Regions from separate parts of the Homo sapiens genome. Here region 2 is linked to region 1. Evidence: promoter capture Hi-C in human tissues and cell types (Jung and others, 2019). All regions are on one chromosome and are shown on one strand. The core of a region is centred on a gene start or on the middle of the fragment in contact, and the rest is flanking DNA. Distances in the headings are between cores, read along the strand shown.

What was found. The method cuts DNA at HindIII sites, captures the fragments that hold promoters and counts their contacts. A contact is called where the count stands out against the background at its distance.
Region 2: a contact is called between a fragment that was not itself captured here and the fragment with the promoter of AP1G1 in region 1, in 1 of the 25 tissues and cell types used here (thymus).

The regions. Positions count from the first base shown.
Region 1 is chr16:71,805,763-71,811,150 of GRCh38, reverse strand. AP1G1 (adaptor related protein complex 1 subunit gamma 1) reads left to right here and starts at 2,317. Exons shown (of 23, transcript NM_001128.6): 1 at 2,317-2,388. LOC124903714 (a long non-coding RNA gene) reads right to left here and starts at 2,193. Exons shown (of 2, transcript XR_007065110.1): 1 at 1,949-2,193. RefSeq lists enhancers at 1,266-1,345, 1,906-2,595, 2,539-3,186. The HindIII fragment of the contact is 19,553 bases long and covers 1-3,324 here.
Region 2 is chr16:71,556,064-71,561,442 of GRCh38, reverse strand. No RefSeq gene overlaps it. Among named protein-coding and RNA genes, the nearest start is that of TAT-AS1, 6.3 kb to the left of the region's middle. The HindIII fragment of the contact is 5,914 bases long and covers 1-5,379 here.

The sequences.
Region 1 (5,388 bases), core at 1,068-3,567:
GAGGTCAGGAGTTCGAGACCAGCTTGGGTAACATGGTGAAACCCCGTTTCTACTAAAAATACAAAAAATTAGCTGGGCGTGGTGGCATGCGCCTGTAGTCCCAGCTACTTGGGAGACTGAGGCAGGACAATCACTTGAACCTGGGAGGCGGAGGCTGCAGTGAGCCAAGATCACGCCATTGCACTCCAGCTCGGGCAACAAGAGTGAAACTCTGTCTCAAAAAAAAAGGCACTCTATAGCTCTGTAGCAGAACCCCAGTGGAGGAGGGGAGAGGATGTGTCTTTTAGCCAAGTTAGTTTCTTGGAGCCTCTTTTTCCTTATTTGTAAAACTAAGTTACTTATGCTTGCCTAGCCTGACTCAGGAGGTTGTCCAGAGGGTCAGATTAGATTATACACATGAAAGTGCCTTATGAACAATGTGATATCAATATTTAATAATACAAATGATAATTATTATCGCACCCATGGCCTCCTTTCTTTCCAGCCACTTGGCATGCCCCAGTAGTTCAGGGACAAAATTGTACAGATGGGCCTACTTGGTTCAATTTTTTTTTGTTTTTGTGAGACAGGGTCTCACTCTGTCGCCCAGACTCGGCTATCTGCAACCTCTGCCTCCCAGGTTCAAGCGATTCTCCTGTCTCAGCCTTCCGAGTAGCTGGGATTACAGGTGCCCACCACCATGCCCGGCTAATTTTGTATTTTTAGTGGAGATGGAGTTTCACCATGTTGGCCAGTCTGGTCTCGAACTCCTGACCTCAGGTGATCCGCCCACCCCGGCCTCCTAAAGTACTGGGATTACATGCGTCAGCCACTGTGCCCGGCCTACTTAGAGCAATTTTTGTTAAGTGTTTTGAAATCCCTGCATGAAAATGACTAAGGAAAAAAGTGCAACCTTCTCTCTATGACACCCAAATCCTAAACTCAAGATTTGTGGTTAGTTCTGGCCAGGCCGGTGGCTCACACCTGTCATCTCCACACTTTGGGAGGCCGACGCAGGCAGATCACCTGAGGTCAGGAGTTCAAGACCAGCCTGGCCAACATGGCGAAACCCTCTCTCTACTAAAAATGCAAATATTAGACGGCCGTGGTGGCGGGAGCCTGTAATCCCAGCTACTTGCGAGGCTGAAGCACGAGAAATTGCTTGACCCCGGGAGGCAAGGTTGTAGTGAGCCGGGATCCCGCCACTGCACTCCAGCCTGGGCAACAGAGCGAGACTTTGTCTCAAAAAAAAAAAAAAAATTTTTTTTGTGTGGTTGGTTCTGTTCTCTTTGGCACCCAGCCTGCTGCTGTGTTGTATTGTACTTTGTTGCCAATCTAGCAGAAGGATTTTAGTCTAGGTAGGTCACCTTTCCTTTAAACAGGCCAAGATATCAGGCCCTCTTTACATTCACATGGAAAAGACTCACGTCATATGTTAGTAATTATTTATCAGGTTAGGAACTGTCTGGTTAGACTTTCTTTGGCCCTGGTTATTAATTCATGGAGTCATAGACCGAAAGCCCATTCTGTAAGGGTTTCAGCTAACATGAGTCCAAGTCTTCTTTCTACATATGAGGAAATTGAATCCCTGGAGAGTTTAAGTGACTTGAGCAGTGCAAGCACCGCGGTACCGGGCGTGGAATCCATTCTTTTCAGTCATCCTCTTAACTCTTCATAAAATATGTTGCAAAGACACCATAAAACCATAGAATACCACCTGGAGCATGCTCCTTAAGTTATAAAGAAAGCAAAAATCTTAAAGGAGACAGCAAAGAGTTCGGGATTCCCGTGGACGAAGACCTTTTCAGCCCTGCTGTCTTCTCCGCCCCCACCTGTCTCGCTTGCTCTCACTTCCTGGGCTACCTGACTTAGCTCCGCCCCCTCCAGGTGGCTCCACCGCTTCCTGGTAGCCCAGCTCCACCCCCCCTACCCCCCCACCCCCCTACCCCCCACCCCCCTACCCCCTCACCAAGCGGAACCAATGTCCGTCCGCTACGGGGTAGGCCGGATCTTTCTCGCTCAGACTCATCGCAGCGGTGACTCGGCAGCAGCGTCTCGCGTCATCAGTGACAGCCCCGATCCTTGCTACGTTTGCGTCGCTCTGCCAGGAGCAGTCGCCTCCTCCTTGGCAAATAGTCCTCGGCAGGGTCCGAGTTCTTGGATAATTCGAGAGAAAAGGCACGATAAGTTGCAGTACGAGGACACGGAAACGACCAGGAGAGGAGGACAGGGAGCGAAGTTTCCTCAATAGTGTGTGAAGTTAGTTAAAAACTCCCTCCTTCCTCAGGATCCCTCCGCCTGCGGTAGCGGTGGTGAGGCCGAGGGAGCCGCCATTTTGGATGTTCGGTTCCTGCTGCCACTGCTGCCGCCGCCCCCGGAGCTGCTGGTTTCATTCGAGGTTTCGGGCCGGTGAGTGTCACTCCCGGCGCTGAGAGCATATTGCTGCTTTTGCCCCGCCGCTGCCGCGGGCGCTCGACCGGAAGCTTCCTTTCAGTTTCAGGGGTCCAGTCCCAGGCTGTGGGTGTTGAGAAGAGAAGACAGAGAAGCTGGGCCAGGAGAGGCCGGGAGCCCCAGGGGCTGCTCCGACTTCTGGAGGGCCGACCCCGAGGCCTCGGACCGGGAGGTTCCGCGCGCCGCGGCGTTCCGTGTTGTGGCGTTGCCCCGCCGGTACGGGCCTCCTTGAACCCTTGACTTTCTCAGGCTGCGATCTTTGAGGGCTCATTCAGGGAGCCTGGGGTTTAGCGGGGCGGGCCCCACCCCCGCGTGTCTTCTCTGAGCCACGTATCAGCGTTCTTGTGTCTTGTACCCGTGTCAGGTCTGTCAGATAACTCCCAGCATATCCAAATGCCCAGTTAATCGCTGCCTGCCCCTGCAGTGCCGTCCTCTCGGAACCGGACATCGGCCTCGCCTCTCTCTAACCTTCCGACCAACTTCTTTCCCAATTTTTCGTGTGTGTGTGTATATGTTGTTGTTTTGTTTTTTTCAACCTACCTGCGAGTATACTGTTTACCCTTTTCTCAGCTCCTGGCCCTGCGGACGTCAGCGTCTAATAATTCTCCCGGTCTTCCTGATTGCCTGAAAGAGTCGGGACGGTTCGGTTGATTGTGTTTCCCGGTTAGGACTCGGTGTAGGAGATCCATCGAACCACTCGCTCAGGGTAATGTTTATGAAGCAGATTATGTTTATGAAGCAGATTAAATGGCTTTTGGGAGGCAAGAGCTGTCAAATGTTTTCTCATATGTGGATTCCCTCCCTGTGCTGAATACTTAGCTTTTTGGTGCTTACTGACACTTGTGTGGTATTTTTTTTTCTCCCCTATTATATATCCCTGAGCACGGAAATCTGTCCATGGAGAAAAATATTAATCTGAGGTAGGTAGAAAGGAGAGTTGGGCTGCTTTACAGTGATTAGTTAACAGAAGGGAGGAGTTAGTGCTTTCTTAGTGACCTTAACTTTGAAGTGTTTGTACAGTAATGATCTTTGCTGACTGATTCTAAAAAATACTTGTAATGATTTCATGTATTGGGTTTTTCTGGGGATAGCTGAATTTTAAATATTCACTTCCACCGTTCCCTAGAATACTTGTCAAATACCTAACTTGTCACACACCCTAACTTTCACGTTTGAAAAATATGAACCCTCTAAGTACTCGTAATCTCGTCACTTTTATTCTAAAGGCATGTTTGCAGTCTAGCATGCTTGAATAAAAAGTATGTCTTTATTTTTATTTATTTATTTTTTGAGACGAAGTCTCCCTCTGTCTCCAGGCTGGAGTGCAGTGGCACGGTCTCGGCTCACTGCAACCTACGCCTCCCGGGTTCAAGCAGTTCTCCTGCCTCAGCCTCCCAAGTAGCTGGGACTACAGGCACACGCCGCCACGCCCGGCTAATTTTTTGTTGTTGTATTTTAGTAGAGATGGGGTTTCATCATGTTGCCCAGGCAGATCTCGAACTCCTGAGCTCAGGTAATCCGCCCGCCTCGGCCTCCCAAAGTGCTAGGATTACAGGCGTGAGCCACCGTGCCTGGCAAAAAGTATTTCACAGTTATTCACTGATACATTTCCTACGTTTCAAGTTAGGCGAGTGTGATTGAATCACCCTTATTTCATCTCAGCCTGGGTTTTCACATCTGCAAAAGAGAAATTAACTTATTTGAGATCACAGTCTAGTGGTTGAAGTTTAAATTTATAACTTGAATTGAGTCAAGCTTTTTAATATTGCTAAGCCACTTATAGATGCATTATTATTATCAGGTTATTGAAATGAGATTGTAGATAAATTCCTCTATAGGTCATATGATGTCTCAGAAGAAAACAATATTTTCAGTTTAAATACTCAGTGATCTTGTTATTTAAGCAGATTTTTCAAAAATATATTAGTTACTATTAGATACGTGAGTTCTGTATTACCCTGAAGCAATGGAATTTTCTCTTTTGGTTTAAAGGAACTGTCAAACACTGAACACCTATGTAATGCTCACTCATTTAGTAAGTATGCCCTCGCAGTTACTACTGAAATGTTCCATTTCTGACTTAGACTTTTCAAGTAAGGTGTTAGAAGAGCTATCACATAGATGTTAGTTAACTCAGTGTTTTTCATGCTTTAATATATTGGTATTTAAATGTCATTCAGGCGGGCGCTCAGTGGCTCATGCTTGTAATCCCAACACTTTGGGAGGTGGAAGGTGGATCCCTTGAGCCCAGGAGTTGGAGGCCAGCCTGGGCAACCTAATGAGACTCCGTCTCTACCAAAATATTTAAAAATATTAAACTTTTAAAAATTCATTCTTAGATAGTTTGCATTCACTGTAGAAAGGGTCCTTTTGCCTTAACAAATTCCTAGCAAAGTGTTGTTTAGTGCACCATTGATCAGTGCATATTTGAATGTCTGCTTTGCGTTTAGGAAACCTCCGTTTTCTTTTGGGGGCAGTTGCTTGTTCTTTGGTCTGACCTCTGTCATTGATAGCAGTTCTAGATTTGAGGGCAGATTTTAGAGTGAAACTTTAAAGTACAGAATTTGCCAGGAATGCCTTGGTGATATTTCACCCCAGTGTTTATTTAAAAAAGGAGTTTTAAAAATCAGTGGTATGCAAACAAAACCAACTTCTTTATGATTTATAAAAACTCTTTTTTTTTTTTTTTATTATTTTTATTGTTTGAGACAGGGTCTCACTCTGTTGCCCAGGCTGGAGTGCAGTGGTCTCAGCTCACTGCAGCCTGGACCTCCTGGACTCAAGCGATCCTCCTGCCTCAGCCCTCCACGTAGCTGGGACTACAGGCGTGTGCTACCACGCAGGGCTAATTTTTGTATTTTTTGTATAGATAGTGTTTTGTCATGTTGCCCAGGCTGGGCTCAAGCAATCCTCTTGCCTCGGCCTCGCAAAGTGCTGAGATTACAGGTGTGAGCCACC
Region 2 (5,379 bases), core at 1,489-3,988, 250 kb after region 1:
ATTAAGAAAACAGTTCCACTTACAACAGCATCGAAAAGAATAAAATACTTAGGAATAAACCTAAGCAAGGAGGTAAATTATTTGTACAATCAGCTGGGCATGGTGGCTCATGCCTGTAATCCCAGCACTTTGGGAGGACAAGGTGGGTGGATCACGAGGTCAGGCATTCGGGACCAGCCTGATGAACATGGTGAATACCCATCTCTACTAAAAATACAAAAATTAGCTGGGCATGGTGGTGCACACCTGTAATCCTAGCTACTCAAGAGTCTGAGGCAGGAGAATTGCTTGAACCCATGAGGTGGAGGCTGCAGTGAGCTGCAATCATGCCACTGCACTCCAGCCTGGGTGAGAGAGCAAGACTCTGTCTCAGAAAAAAAATAAAAAGATTTGTACAATCAAAACTACAAAACATTGCTGTAAGAAACTAAAGGAGACACAAATAAATGAGAAGGCGTCCCATTCTCATGGATTGCAGTACTTAATGCTGTGAAGATATTCATGCTGCCCCAAGTGATCAATAGATTTCAACACAATCCATATCAAAATCCCAATAGCATTTTTTTTCAAAATAGAAAAAAATCACCCTAAAATTCACACAAAATCTCAAGGGACCCTGAATAACCAAAAAAAATTTTGAAAAGGAAGAATAAAGTTGAAGGAGTCACACTTTCTGATTTCAAAAGATATTACGAAACCACAGTAATCAGAACAGTGTGGTACTGGCATAAAAACAGATAAATGGGCCAATGAAATAGAATAGCCAAGAAATAAACCCTTGTATATATGGTCAAATGATCTTTGACAAGGGTGCCAAGATGACTGAATGGGGAAAGAAAAGTGTCTTCAACAAATGGTTTTGGGAAAACTAGATATCCACATGCAAAGGAAACTGGGCCCTTATATTACACCATATATAAAAATTAACTCAAAATAGACTAAAGACCTAAATGTAATACCCCAAACTATAAAACTCCTAGAAGAAAACATGGGAGGAAAGCTTCATGATACTGGATTTGGCAATGATTTCTTGGATATGACACCAAAAGCATAGGCAACAAAAGGAAAAATGGAACTTAAAAACCTTTGTGCATCAAAGAACATAATCAAAATGAAAAGGCATTTTCTTCTGCCTATGGAATGGGAGAAAATATTTAAAAATTATATATCTGATGAGGCATTAACATTTAGAATATATAAAGCACTCCTGCCACTCAACAACAAAAAAGTCAAATGACCCAACTTAAAAAGGCACTTGAATAGGCATTTCTCCAAAGATACCCTAACTCATTTCTCTCAAGTTCAAAGTTCAACAGGTCCCTGGAGCAGGGGCACAATGCTGCCAGTCTCTTTGCTAAAGCATAGCAAGAGTAACCTTTACTCCAGTTCCCAATAAGTTCTGTGAAAGAAAAATACACTTTGGGGCCCCAAAATTGCTAAGCTAAAGGGAAAAGTCAAGCTGAGAACTGCTTATGGCAAACCTGCCTTTCATTCTATGCAAAGTCATCCTTATGCACAATGAGATAAATGCATATCTGATTGTCTCCTTTGGAAAGACTAATCAGAAACTCAAAAGAATGCAATCATTTGTCTCTCACTTACCTGTGACTTGGAAGCCCCCTCCCTGCTTGAGTTGTCCCACCTTTCCAGACAGAACCAATGTTTATCTTACATATATTGATTGATGTCTCATGTCTCATGTCTCCCTAAAATGTCTAAAACCAAGCTGTGCCCCAGCCACCTTGGGCACATGTTGTCAGGACCTCCTGAGGCTGTGTGATGGGTGTGTGCCCTCAACATTGGCAAAATAAACTTTCTAAATTTACTGAAACCTGTCTCAGATATATTAGTTTCACAGTACCTCATCTTCATCTGAGACCTCCTCAGCCTGGACTTCACTGTCCATATCACCATCAGCATTTTGGTCACAACCATTCAAGAAGTCTGTAGGAAGTTCCAAACTTTCTCCCATCTTCCTATCTTCTGGGCCCTCCAAACTGTTCCAATCTCTGCCTGTTATCCAATTGCAAAGTTGCTTACACATTTTCAGGTATCTTTATAGTAATGCCCCACTTCTATAGTACCAATTTTCTGTATTAGTGCATTCTCACACTGCTATGAAGAACTACCTGAGACTGGTTAATTCATAAGGAAAAGAGGTTTAATTGTGCTCACAGTTTTGCAGGCTGTATAGTTTTCTGCTTCTGGGGAGGCCTCAGGAAACTTACCACATGGCAGAAGGTGAAGGGGAAGCAGGGACATCTTCACATGGCCAGTGGGAGTAGGAGGAGGTTCTACACACTTTTAAACAAGCAGATCTTGGGAGAACTCTATCACAAGAACAGCAAGGGGGAAGTCCACCTCCATGATTTAATCACCTCTCACCAGGCCTGTCCTTCAACACTGGGAATTACAATTCGACATGAGATTTGGGTGAGGACACAGAGCCAAATCATATTACTCATAGAGACAGAAAATAGATTAGTTACTTCTAGAGCTAGAGGTGAGGCCATATGTGGGAGATGGAGAGAGATGGCTAATGGGTACAGAGTTTCTTTTTGGAGTGATGAATATATTCTAAAATTGATAATGGTGATGGTTACACAACTTTAAAGAAAGTAAAAACCATTGAATTGTACAATTTAAGTGGGTTGAGTTGTGTGGTATGTAGATCATGTCTCAGTAATACTGTTTTTTTTGTGTGAGTGGAAAAAAAGATATAAAGGAGTCAGACTTTAGGGAGATCAACTCAAATATCTGTGTGGCATTTAAAGGATTTTTAGGTTTTTAAAGAAAAGAAAAAGCATGTAAGATTGCCAGTTTGTAGCTATCTGTTCATGGTGGAAAACAGTAACTTTTTCTCATGTTCATCCTAGTCACAAACATTGTGATGTTACTTCAGACATAATCATTCTAAAAGGCAGAGATAACTTCAGTTTTTTAAAGATAAGGAGTGCACACTTGCAGGAATTAGTTTGGGGACTAGAACTAGATGGGGTGACCTCATCATTGTTGTTTCATTTAAGGGTACAAAGTGCTTATTTTTCCTGACTCTGGTATTTCATAATGGAAGCAGGGCAAAGTGTCAGTTGGGCTTCCACACTGGGAGCAATAAGAAATTTCTAGAAAAACATCTGAGATGTTTCTGTAAATAGCAGAATTAGCATGTGTGATAAACTAGTGGTTTTTACACTTTTTCGTTCATGTGTTCCCTAAAATAATTTAGAATTCTTGACTGAAAATTCAAACATATATAAAAGTAGAAGCAGTAGTATAATTAGCACCAATATACCCATCACTCAGATTTAATGACTCTCAAGATATTGCCATTTTTGTTCCTTCCTTCTTTTTCTTGTTTTCTTTGCCAAAAGATTGTAAAGCAAATCCTGGACATCGTTAGTTCTCCCCATACGCCTCAGTACACATCTCTAAACACATAATTTCTTAACCACAGTGCCACATCACATCAAATAGTAAGATATTTTTGGTTGCCTCCAAAATGTCTTCTTATAGTTGGTTTATTTGGATCAGGATTCAAACAAAGTTTAAACATTACTTTTTAGTTTTATGTCTTAAGCTTAAATATCTCTTACTCTAGAGAAGGCTCCTGTTTTTTTTTTTTTCTTTTCATACCATTGACTTGTTGCAGGAATGGCTGTCTTACAAAATGTTCTACATTCTGGATATGTTTGTTGGCTTCCTTGTGGTGTCATTTAACTTGTTCATTTAACTAGAGCATGCATTTTTCAACAGAGATGATATTGGATATTTACTAGAAATTTACCTTCTTTTTTTTGTTGTTGAAACAGGATCTTGCTCTGTTGCCCAGACTGGAGTGCAATGACATGATTACAATCATAGCTCGCTGCAGCCTTGACCTCCTAGACTCAAGTAATCTTTCCACCTCAGCCTTCTGAGTGGCTCGGACCATAGTTACATGCCAACATGCCTGCCTAATTTGTGTATTTTTTGCAGAGATGGGGTCTCACTATGCTGCCCAGGCTGGTCTCCTGGGCTCAAATGATCCTTCTGCTTTGGCCTCCCAAAGTGCCAGGATGATTTTCTTTCTTCATCTTGTATTTCTGTTTTATGTTTTACCCCAGTTTTATGTTAACGTTATCCTTATCTTTGAAAGTATTTTATTGATCATACTTCTTTGCCACAAAAATACTGACTGATATGGCAGGTTGCTAGAGGTTCCCCAATGACTTTCTCTCCTTGTAGTATTAAAACTGCTGATGGGGCTGGGCGTGGTGGCTCACGCCTGTAATCCCAGCACTTTGGGAGGCCAGGGGGGCAGATCACCTGAGGTCAGGAGTTCAAGACCAGCCTGGCCAACATGGTGAAATCCCATCTCTACTAAAAATACAAAAATTAGCCAGGTGTGGTGGCAGGCACCTGTAATCCCAGATACTGGGGAGGCTGAGGCAGGAGAATCGCTTGAACCTTGGAGGCGGAGGTTGCAGTGAGCCGAGATCGCACCATCACACTCCAGCCTGGGGGACGAGAGCAAGACTTTATCTCAAAAAACAAACAAATAAACAAAACAAAACAACGACAACAAACTGCTGATGGAATGGATCAGGATCACTTTTCAGTGAATTTCTCAACTTTGGGGTTTCCAGACCATACAGGTAGGTTACATTTGAACACTAAACCCATGTAAAGGAATGCCTATGCTTACAAACTGTCATGGGAGAGTTTTCTTTTTTCTTCCCAGGGGCCAGAATAAGAAAGATTTCTTTATAATCCATCTTGTTACTCAGCCTTAACATTTGGAAGGGCTTGGCTTTGTGGAGAGGTCTAAATTTTAAATCCCTGCCTTACATGGGTCTAAGTCCTCCTCCACTAGTGTTAAACTCTAAACCCATGATTACTGAGATGTTACCAGCATAAGCATACTCTTATTTTCCAAATTTTCAGGCCCCTCTTTGTTTTTGCTTCTTTGGGGATTCTGTTACTCTCTTGCAAGCTTGGCTCTGAATTTGAAAATACGTTTGTTAGATTTTATCCATCATATCTAGATGTTTTGAAGCCCAAACATTTTCATATGATCTTTCTTGTGATGTTGCTTTGGAAGTCTCCATACTTCTCTTACATCTCTCCATCCTGATGTTTCCTCCTTCCGTTCTCCCCCTGCCCAAAATCTTTGTTCCATAGCAGGTACAATTATCTGCCATCATCAAACTGGTTACTTCTTTGCCTTAACTGTAACTTCGCTCTTCCCCTAAAGTCACTGTTTGTTCTTTTTTTTTTGAGACAGAGTCTCGCTCTCTTGCCAGGCTGGAGTGCAATGGCACCATCTCAGCTCAGGGCAACCTCTGCTTCCCAGGTTCAAGCAATTCTCCTGCGTCAGCCTCCCGAGCAGCTGGGATTACA